Linked DNA regions of Homo sapiens: all the other regions are linked to region 2. Evidence: promoter capture Hi-C in human tissues and cell types (Jung and others, 2019). All regions are on one chromosome and are shown on one strand. Each heading gives the region's core, a stretch centred on a gene start or on the middle of the fragment in contact. The rest is flanking DNA. Distances are from core to core; before and after follow the strand shown.

Region 1 (3,826 bases), core at 984-3,483, 410 kb before region 2:
TGAAAAGTGGAAAGATAATCACAAACTGGGATAAAATATTCTCTCTCTACATAAATAATTAAGGTCAATATTTAGTATATACAATAACTATTATGAGTTAAAAAGGGAAAGATAAACATCCCTATAGGAAAATGGGCAAAAATAGAAACAACCTGTTATTAATAAATAAATAACCTATAAACATAAAGTGATGCTCTTAGTTTGGGTTCCCCCTAAAAGTACACCATGAAACTAGACCTCTGGTGCAAGTAGTTTACTTGAAAGGTGACTCCAAGAATCACAAGAAAGTAGGGACTGTAAGGCCGGGCACGGTGGCATTTAGTGCTGTATACCTAGGAATACAGCTTACAAGGGATATAAAGAAAGAAGCACATTTTGGAGAGAAAATCAAGGTGTGGCCAATTAACCATTTGGTATGGAGTTTAGTATTGCTAGAAGAAAGCCAGGTTCTAGACATCAAGAAAATGGAAGAATGCCCCTGAAAGTATATCAGAGATTTTTGAGGCTCCCCCTCCCATTGTAGGCCCAGAGTAGGGCCTTGGGGGCAGAATGGTTTCCAGGGCACCAGGAGGACCCAGGGTGCTCGTGGGACCTTGGGGTTTGCTGTGCAGGGCCACCTCAAGTCTTTACTCCCTGCTTTCTGGCCCAGCACTCCTCAGCTGTCCCAGCTGAGGCCAGGCTGTAACATAAAGGAATAAAGCCACATCGCAAAGTCAATGCCCCAGAAAATTCTAATTCTGCCTTAGGTTGGCGAAAACAGATAATTTCATGTGAAAGACCGGGCTCCCTCGAAAATGGAACCTGAAGGAAAATCCTGCATGCACACACTTCAGTAGGGAACCATTCTCTCAGCCAAGTAGGTATGAGATTAAAGAGAGAGTGTGGCAAGGAAGGAGGCAGAGCAGATAGAAGAGTGTGCTGGCGACTGGCCACAGCTTTGTAAAGGGCCAGGAGATTCCTTGGTCTCTGAGGTCGTTCTCAGAAGGGCTGCTTAAATGACTGTGTCTCCAAATACATGATGGGAAAAAGAAAGGAGAGGAATTTTTTTATTTGAGCACCTTTCTCACACTGACCAAACATGCCTATTATTTATATATTTTGCTCCCCCCGGCCCCCCAAATTTGTATGTTGAAGTAGTAGACAGGACTTTAAAGGGCAATTAAGTTAAGATTAGTTCTTTAGGTTGGGCCCTAATCCAGTATTACTTGTGTCCTTATAAGAAGAAGAGACGAGGACACAGATACACAAAGAGAACCCATCTGAAGACACAGGGAGAAGATGGCCATCTACAAGTGAAGAAGAGAGACCCCAGAAGAAAGGAACCATGTAAACACCTTGATCTTGGACTTGTAGCCTCCAGAACTGTGAGAAATAAATTTCTACTGTTTAAGCTACTCAGTTTGTGGCATAGGTACACCTTGAAGACATTGGAGATTCCATTCCTGACCATTGCAATAAAGAAGGTGGATCATGAGGTCAGGAAATCAAGACCACCCTGGCTAGTACGGTGAAACGCTGTCTCTACTAAAAATATGAAAAATTAGCCAGGCGTGCTGGCGGGCGGCTGTAGTCCCAGTTGCTCAGGAGGCTGAAGCAGGAGAATGGCGTGAACTTGGGAGGCGGAGCCTGCAGTGAGCGGAGATTGCGCCACTGCACTCCAGCCTGGGGGACAGACAGAGTGAGACTCCGTCTCAAAAAAAAAAAGAAAAAGAAAATATCATAATAAAGTGAGTCACACAAAGTTTTTGGTTTCCCAGTACATATAAAAGTAATGTTTACAGTATACTGCAGTCTGTTTAGTTTGCAATTGCATTATATTTTAAAAAGACAAAGTATAGACCTTAATTTACATATACTTTAAATTTTTATTGCCCCCAAAATGTTAACAATTATCTGAACCTTCAGTGAATCATCGTCTTTTTGCTGGCGGATGATCTTGCCTTGATGATTGATGGCTGCTGACTGACAGGTTGGCGGTTGCTGGAAGCTGGGGTGGCTGTGGCAATTCGTTAAAATAAGACAACAATGAAGTTTGCCTCATTGATCAACTCATCCTTTTATGAAAGATTTTCTGCAGCATGAGATGCTGTTTGATAGCGTTTTATCCACAGTAGAATTTCTTTCAAAATTGGAGTTGATCCTCTGAAACCCTGCCACTGCTTCATCATTTAGGTTTATGTAATATTCTAAATACCTCGTTGTCATTTTAACAATGTTCACAGCAGCTTCACCATGGGTAGATTTTATCTCAAGAAACCACTTTCTTTGCTAATGCATAAGAAGCAACGCGTTATCCATTCAAGCTTTATTATGAGGCTGCAGCAACTCCATCTCTTCACACGCTACTTCTAATGCTAGTTCTCTTGGTATTTCCACAGCTGCAACTCCTTCTTCCACTGAAATCTTGAACCCCTCAAATTCATCCCTGAGGGTTGGAATAAACTTCTTCCAAACTCCTATTAATGTTGATATTTTGATCTCCTCCCATGAATCACAAATATTCTTTTTTTTTTTTTTTCAGACGGAGTCTTGCTCTGTCACCCAGGCTGGAGTGCAATGGCACGATCTCGGCTCACTGCAGACCCCGCCTCCTGGGTTCACACCATTCTCCTGCCTCAGCCTCCCAAGTAGCTGAGATTACAGGTGCCCACCACCACGCCCAGCTAATTTTTTTGTATTTTTAGTAGAGACGGGGTTTCACCGTGTTAACCAGGATGGTCTCGATCTCCTGATCTCATGATCCACCTGTCTCGGCCTCCCAAAGTGCTGGGATTACAGGCATGAGCTACCGCACCCGGCCCACAAATATTCTTAATAGTATCTAGAACGGTGAATCCTTTCCAGAAGATTTTCAATTTACTTTGCCCAGATTCATCAGAGGAATCACTGTCTATGGCAGCTATAGCCTTATGAAATGTATTTCTTATTTAAGAAGACTTGAAAGTTAAATGTACTTCTTGATTCATGGGCTGCAGAATGGATGTTGTGTTAAAAGACATGAAAGCAACATTAATCTTGTACATCTCCCTCAGAACTGTTGCATGACCAGAAGCATTGTGAATGAGCAGTAATATTTTGAAAGAAATATTTTTTCTGAATAATATTTCTCAACACTGGGCTTAAAATATTCAGGAAACCATGCTGTAAATGATATGCTGTTATCCAGGCTTGTTGTTCCATTTATAAAGCACAGACAGAATAGATATGGCATAATTCTAGGGGCCCTAAAGTTTTTGGAATGGTAAATGAGTACTGGCTTCTATTTGAAGTCACCACCTACATTAGCCCCTCACAAGAGAGGCAGCCTGTCCTTTGAAGCTTTGAAGCCAGGCATTGACTTCTCTCTAGCTAAGAAAGTCCTAGATGGCTTTTTTTTTTTTAACCTTGAAAATCTGTTGTTTAGTGGAGCCACCTTCATCCGTGATTTTAGCTGGATCTTCTGGATAACTTCAGCTTCTCCATCAGCACTTGCTGCTTCACCTTGCACTTTTGGTGTTATGGAGACAACTTCTTTCTTTAATCCTCATGAACCAATCTCTGCTAGCTTCAAACTTCCTTCTGCAGCTTCCTCACCTCTCTCAGCCTTCACAGAATTGAAGAGAGTTAGGGTCTTGCCCTGGATTAGGCTTTGGTTTAAGGGAATGTTATACAGCTGGTTTGATCTTTATTCAGATCACTCAGACTTTCTCAATATCAGCAATAAGGCTGTTTGGCTTTCTTATCATGTGTGCATTCACTGGAGTCACAGCACTTTTTTTTCTTTGAGACAGAGTCTCACTCTGTTGCCCAGGCTGGAGTGTAGTGGCGCGATCTCGGCTCACTGCAG
Region 2 (3,571 bases), core at 671-3,170:
GAGGAGGGAGGAAAACCCTCCCCAGTCTTCAGGCTGCCCAAAAGGATCTTTCTAAGCAATCCACAAATCCTGGGCCAGCTGGGTTCCCCCAGGAGAGGGGAGGATGTACCATGCAGGCCCCAGGGAGCCTCTTACAAGGGTGACCTCAGGTCACACAAACACCCTCAGCTGCCAACTGCACTGACATTCTGGTCACCACACCCCCACTCTGACCTCTAGGCTCAGCCCAGCCCACCAGCAGTGCCCCTCCCGGCCCTCACTGCCTCCCCTGCCAAGCTCCTACCTCCTCCCCCTCCTCACCACAACACGCTGGTAGAGTCCCTCACCCAAGACTCAGTGGAAAATTTCCTTCTCCTTTATGACTGTACTTAAAACACACACGCTCCATTCTTCACCTCTGAATCGACACAGGCAGAGGGCGGCAAGGCTGTCCCACCCCACCGCCCAGCCCAGCCCAGTGCACACACACACACTCTCCCAGCAGAGCCACTGGACTTGCACGCTTTATGGGCTGGAAAGGAGGAGAGAGATGTTTCCCAGATGCCACTCCACCTTTAGCCATCCAAACACAAGTGTCCCAAACACTCCCAGACAAGCCTCCCAGGATGCTCTCGGGGCCCTCCATACACACTAAGGAGTAGGAGGTCTCTTTACAGGGTCTCTCTACTCAAGACACTAAGTCCAGTCTGGAACTGTCACCGTGATGTGACCCTTGGCAGGTTTGTTCTTTTGGTGACAAATCTGTTTTCCACTACCCATTCTCCCCCTCCCCACACACATTCAAGGGGGAAAAAAATAGCCTTCCTGTGAATTTTCACAGCTATGTGGTGAGTGACCCCTCGCACCTTCTGCTGGCTATCAACACTCTCAAACACAGTGCCTCCAGGGCGTGGGTCAATGCCACAGCTTTCTCCTCATTTTCCCCCTTAAATCCACCCAAACTTGGCAGTCCCAGAAGCTCGGTTAGCGCTTGCCTGGGAAGCCTGCAGCTGGGTTGGGTCTCAGTGAAAAGAATGAATTTCATAGGCGCAGGAGATGATGCAGACTCGGAGTACTCCAAGTTTCTCCTGCAACTTTCCGTGCACATGGCGGGCAACTTTTTTTTTTTTTTTTAACTATTCAATTTCCCAGCACTTTAGTTAGCATTCCAAGTTTTGGGAACCCTTTCCCCACCCTTCTCTTCTAGCCCTTCCTCCGTTAGTAGTGAATGGGGACATTTTCCAGATGTCAAAAGGACCGGTAGGAACCTCACGACCTAAGTTAGGAAAGCAAAGGCGGCCAGGGGCTCCCTCAGCCACTGTGAGTTTCCTCTGCAGGGCATCTTCCCCTCTCAGCTATGCCAGCGCCCCCGCCCAAGGACATCGAGTTTCTCCACTCCGCCCCAACCCCGTCTGCCCCTCTCCTGGGGCAGAGGAAAGGAGTGGGGCTCGCCCTGCCTCCCTAAGCAGCGCTGCAGTCCTGGCTGCAGCGTGGGGCTCGGGCGGGGCACCAGGAGCGCTTACCGATGTCGGAGTTGCAGAAGGCGTCCTGGGGGTGGCTGGGCGAGCATGTGCACGCCTCGGCGCCCCAGTCCCCCAGGCTCCAGCTGCCCAGGAGCACGATGAGCCCGAGCCAAGGGGTCATTGCCGCTGCTGCCGCCGCTGCCGGGGCTGCTGCTCGCCTCTCCAAAGTTGCCGTGCGCGCCGCCGGCGGGGCTGCTGCAGCCCGAGCTCGCTCGCCCGCCGGGCCGTGCGGGGCAACCTTGGCCTCCGGCGCGCTGCCCTCCGAGTGCCCGGCGGGACGGGATGGGGCGCAGCGAGGCTGCCTCGGCGCTGGCGCAGGACTCGGCGGGCGGCCTCCCGGCGAAGGAGCAGGAGCTGGAGGAGCAAGAGGAGGAGGAGAAGCCGTCTGAGCGCCCGCCGCCTGCCTGCTGCCCGCTCTGCGCCGCTGCCTGGGCGGCCGAGTGATATAGCGCTGGGCCCCCGGGGACCCCGCCTCGGGCTGTTGGGGCCCGCCCCCTCAGACCAATGGCAGAGCCGCATTACCTCATCGGCCCTCCAAAAAGGGGGCGGGGCCGGGGGCAAGGGGTAACGGGGCGGGGCCGCCCCCGGATCGTTCAGATCCTTATAGGGAATAATGCCGCCGTGGGCACGCGAGTGGGTGGGCTGGGGCGCGCCCGGGACCGGTGCTTGCCGCTGGGTCCTCGGAGCGGAGCCCTCGTGCCCCTTCTCGTCTGCGCCCTGGCCCCACGCCCACCTGGGCCACTGGGTGTCTCTGACCCAAACCAGAACCAACTAACACCCACCCACCCCAGCAGGACCGCTTCCACAGGTGAGGGGTGGCCATGTCCTAGAGACCTTGACTGTGCTTGGTGGAACCAGCGGGGGAATGCTAACTGCTACCCCTCCAGTTTCTCTGGAGAGAGCAGGCACAGAGGAGAAAGACCCAAACTCTCTCTCTTTCTCTCTCTCTCTGGTTCTTACTCTCTGGGATATGGGAAGCCATCTGCTGTTTGCAGCTGGCTATGATATATGATAGAAGACTGTTTTCTGTGCTCTCCCAGAGCAAACGGGGTTCTGTATTCATTCAACAAACACGGTTCAGGATGCTGGGTTAAGCAACACAAAGCCCTTGCCCCCGTGGACATCCATGAATGCACAGGGTGATTTTCTGTGATGCTAGGGCTATGAAGAAAACAAAACAGAGTTCTGGGTTGGACATGACTGGGGAGGGCCTGCTCTCTCTGCGATAGTAAGGGAAGGGCTCCCTGAAGTGCCATCCTCGCTGAGAAGTGGACAAAGACAAGGATCAGCTCTGGGGCAAGCCACAGGAGAGAGGTACCAGGCAGGGGGAACAGCAAGTGCAAAGACCCTGGGCATGTTTGAAAGACAGAAAGTAGAAAGGCAAGAGGAAGTGGTTCCCTGCCCATGGCTGACAGAGCTCCACCCTTCAGCAAGGGATTTGGGGGTGAGCTGATCCAAAACTGTAGTAAAACCAGGAGAACGATCCAGGATCCTAGACGACTAGCTATAATAGATGATTGCAGATAACTAACACAATTACTATCCTTATTATTGACATCTTGATTCTGCTTTGTATTTTTAAAAGCAGGATTCTGTATCTCACCGTATTATAGCTCTCACAATAATCTTTGTGGGTAGGAAAAGCAAGCACAAGTATCACTCCCACTTTCCAGATGAGGAACCGGCACAGAAAGATGGGATGATTGGTGGCCAGCCAGGAACTCGTCACCCCTTTCCACTGCTCCTTCCCATCTGAAGAGAGACATGCATTTCCCTGAACGTCAGCAGCTGTTCCATCTAACTGCAAATGGCCATTTGCAGCTGGGATCTTCCATCTTTCTACACTTTTGTCTCTTTCCCTTTCTCTTCCGCTTCATCCTGTTAGAAATGCCACAAGTTTGGAACAAATAGAAACAGGGAGAAATGCAAGTTCAGCTTCTTTCTCAGAACTCCTCTGTTTACATCTCAGACAAGTGACATTGGGACAGCAGAGGCCGAAGAATTCGTGAGAGATGGTATTTCCAAGAACATTTTTGAAACTCCTTTTTCCCCTTTGAGCACTTTAGCCA
Region 3 (3,371 bases), core at 20-2,519, 260 kb before region 2:
ATTAAGTTTCCAAGATATGAACTTTGGGGAACATATTTAAACCATAGCATCCCCTAAATCCAGCCTAATCCATCATCAAGCCTTCCTGTGCTACTTTTGACACACATTGCAGGAGGTCCACCTTTTCCGTATCTTGCTGTCACCACCCTGGTCTTCATCACCATAATCTCTTGCCTGAATTGTTCCCTCCAGATTGATATGACAAAGCCCTGACCCTCACGGTGGCCTACAAGGTTCTGGGTGATGGTGATTCCACACTAGTCTACCTCTCTGGCTGTAACCCACTCTCCCCTTGCTCACCTCACTCAGCCACCCTGGGGGCCAGTTCCAGCTTCAGAACCATGCATCGGCCGACCCCTCTGTCAGCAATGCTCTTGCTTCAGCCCTGGAATCGTTTTTGTCCTCCAAGTATCCAATATCACAAGCGGCCCGGAGACCACCCTAGGTATAGCAGTCCTAGACCCCTTTCTTTTTCTTTTCTTTTTTTTGGAGACGGCATCTAGCTCTGTTGCCCAGGCTGGAGTGCAGTGGCTCTAACTCGGCTTACTGTAACTTCCACCTCCCGGGTCCAAGCAATTCTGCCTCAGCCTCCCGAGTAGCTAGGACTACAGGTGAGGGCCACCATGCCCAGCTAATTTTTGTATTTTTAGTAGAGACGGGGTTTTATCATCTTGGCCAGGCTGGTCTTGAACTCCCGACCTCGTGATTCACCTGCCTCGGCCTCCCAAAGTGCTGGGATTACAGGCGTGAGCCACAGGCACCCAGCCGACATTCTCTTGTTTTTTTCGTTTGTTGTATATAACCTACCCCCACCTCCACCCCATGCAAAGTCCACGAGGACGATAGACTTTGTCTTGTTCCCTGTTGCATCCTGGCCCTAGGGCCTAGCCCACAACCTGGGACATTTCCTGACAAGGGGCCCTGGTTTCTCTGAGGTGCCACCTGAGGTCCGGGAGGTCAGCTGACTTTCCCAAAGGTGGATTCCAAGGACACTGCATTCTTCGCACTCCCCGAGGGGCGTCTAGACACTCCTGGGACCCAGAATTATTAGCTAACTGGGCTCCTGAGTCCGGTGAGAGCTCAGAGTCTAGAAGCAACTTTCCCTGCCTGGAGAGGTGAACCCAGCAAGGCGTTGGGGAGAGGCGTGGGCGAGGGAGTGGGCGCGGGTGGGCGGGGCCGTCCGGGGGCCTCGTTGCCCGAGCCAATGGGGCGCCGCGGCGCGGGGAGGCCGGGCCGCCGGGCGGGGGCGCTCGCGCGCGTTGAGGGGCAGAGGCTGAGCTCCCGGGACCCGGAGCGGATCGACTGGCGGGCGCCGCGCCGAGGCACCACCGGGCGCCGAGTTCCTGGCGGCTCGCACGGTAAGCGGCGCGGCGCCGCAAAGTAGACTTTGTGGGGTTTCTGACAGCCGGGAGACCCCACCTCGAGCGGGGGCTGCTGGTGCGTTCTCGCGTCGGGCTGCGTCCCCTGGAGCTCCGGCTCTGTGTCCGCGGGATGCGGGCGCACGGAGGGGCAGGGAGGGAGGCAAGGAGCCGCGCACCACGGTGTCTCCCCAGGCTGCCGCTGCCGGGGCCCTGGGCCGGTCCCTGGGACAGACAGATCGGCGTGCGGGGGCCGTCTGCCGGGCCCGGGAGCCGGGGGCGCGCAAGACTGTGGATCCTAAGACTGCCTCCACCCAGCGCCCGGCCCGGGGAAGAGCTTGCGGGAAACCAGGAACCGCAGCGGCCGGACCTCTGCTCTGCGCCGGCTCCTAGGACCTGCCTTAGGTCCCCAGACCCCTCATGACCTGTTGCCTTGGGTTTGGGAGGTCAGGTTTGTCATGCCATTTCCGATTTCCAGTCATCCTGGGGGCAGGATGAAATTTCAGAGTGGTTTCCTGGCCAAGCTAGAAGCAGAGAATAGCTATGGATACAGCACCTCGTGTATCTATCCAGCACTTACTTGGCTTTTTCTGAGTGCCAGGAACTGTGCCAAGCCCTAGCAGCATGAAGAATGGCCTTTGGGGAGCTTCTGGGGCTAAGAGGGACAGTAGGAGGAGCAATTGCAGTGCAGGGTAGTGCGGAAGACTCGAGATGGAGAAGAGGACGGTGAGGAAGCCAGGAAGGTTTCAGAGAGGAGGTGAGCATTGACTGGAAGTCGGAGGTTTTGCCAGGCTGAAAAGTGTGTTGGGACTGTGAGTTGATAGGGAGCAGGAATTCCAGGTGGGTTTTCTTGTGTAAAGGTAAAGAAACTGAAAAGGTCCGGTGTCCTGACCTAGCACATCAGATAATTCTACAGCAGATAATGGAGTAGGACCGGGTCTTGCTGTAGGTAGGAAATGAGCTCTCGACATGGCAGGAAGCTAAAACCTGCACAGACCTTAAAGTGCAGCCTTAGAATATTTAGAATTTTATCCTGGAATGAAGGAGGGCCGTGGAAGAATTCTGATCAGTGATCAGGTCCCTCTGGCAGCTCTGGGGACAATGGATGGAGGCCGGAGCATCAGAAAGCTGGTAAGTTGTAGTTGTTTTCTGGTCCTTGGCTGCAAATACTCTTCCCTGCTTAAGGGAGCCCCCTCTGCCCGGGAGCCCTGCTCCCTGGCTTCTGGACATGGATTCAGGCAAAGAGATGCTGCCCGTGTAATGCTTGCTTCTGCAGCCTGCACATCATTTTGATATTGTTTCTGGAGCCTGTGACCTCAGTCTTGTCATCAGGCCTCTGAAGGGTGCCTCTGCTCTTCTTTTCTCATCTTCAAGCCCTCTGTGTGCCCTTCCCCTCTGCCTGGGCTCCCCTTTCTGTTTCACAGAGATCCAGTCTCAGCCATTGGAGGCAAGGCTGTGTGTAGATTGGTGTAGTAGAAAGAACAAGGGCTCGCTGGGAAATCAGACCAGAAAGTCACTTTAGCCATAGGCTTTGGGGACATTAGCAACCTTCATGAACCTTCTTTTTCTGATTTAAAAGGAAATCATTGTACTCACCTGTCATGGTTTGGGTTCCCTGGAAAAAGACTTGGCGCTTCTGAGATTTTTGTGCAGATAAGGGAAGCAGAACTGGGCAGAGGGAGATGTTGATCTATGGTGCAGTGCAAGAGAGGTCTCAATCCCTCCCATGAGACAAAGAGACGAGGCCTTTGAAGCTTAATGTTGATCAGCCAGTGGGTGCAGGCTGGTCCTAGGGAGGGAGCTAGGATGTCCCTTCAGCAGGACAGTTCCTGACTAGGGACTCACCTGGGAGCTGGGGTAACCAACACTCTGGCAGCTGGACATGGGGAAGTCATGAGTGTCTTGGTCTTGGAGGGGGAGTTGAGCATTTCCCCACGGTATCCACTACACTACCTCACAAATGAAGTAGTGCTTTGTACTGTGCCTGGTGCATAGTAGATATCTTAAAAGTAT

The links. The method cuts DNA at HindIII sites, captures the fragments that hold promoters and counts their contacts. A contact is called where the count stands out against the background at its distance.
Region 1: a fragment that was not itself captured here is called in contact with the fragment with the promoter of TIMP3 in region 2 in 1 of the 25 tissues and cell types used here (dorsolateral prefrontal cortex).
Region 3: a contact is called between the fragment with the promoter of SYN3 here and the fragment with the promoter of TIMP3 in region 2, in 1 of the 25 tissues and cell types used here (mesendoderm cells).

Annotation. Positions count from the first base shown.
Region 1 is chr22:33,211,710-33,215,535 of GRCh38, reverse strand. It overlaps LOC124905106 (a long non-coding RNA gene), which reads left to right. Exons shown (of 2, transcript XR_007068071.1): 2 at 1,224-1,394. It also overlaps a transcript of LARGE1 not described here. Among named protein-coding and RNA genes, the nearest start is that of LARGE1-AS2, 49 kb to the right of the region's middle. The HindIII fragment of the contact is 5,851 bases long and covers 1-3,826 here.
Region 2 is chr22:32,800,054-32,803,624 of GRCh38, reverse strand. TIMP3 (TIMP metallopeptidase inhibitor 3) reads right to left here and starts at 1,920. Exons shown (of 5, transcript NM_000362.5): 1 at 1,503-1,920. The coding sequence starts at 1,623. The region is part of intron 6 of SYN3 (synapsin III); the gene reads left to right. The HindIII fragment of the contact is 19,598 bases long and covers 1-3,571 here.
Region 3 is chr22:33,056,279-33,059,649 of GRCh38, reverse strand. It overlaps SYN3 (synapsin III), which reads left to right and starts at 1,269. Exons shown (of 14, transcript NM_003490.4): 1 at 1,269-1,358. The HindIII fragment of the contact is 13,516 bases long and covers 1-3,371 here.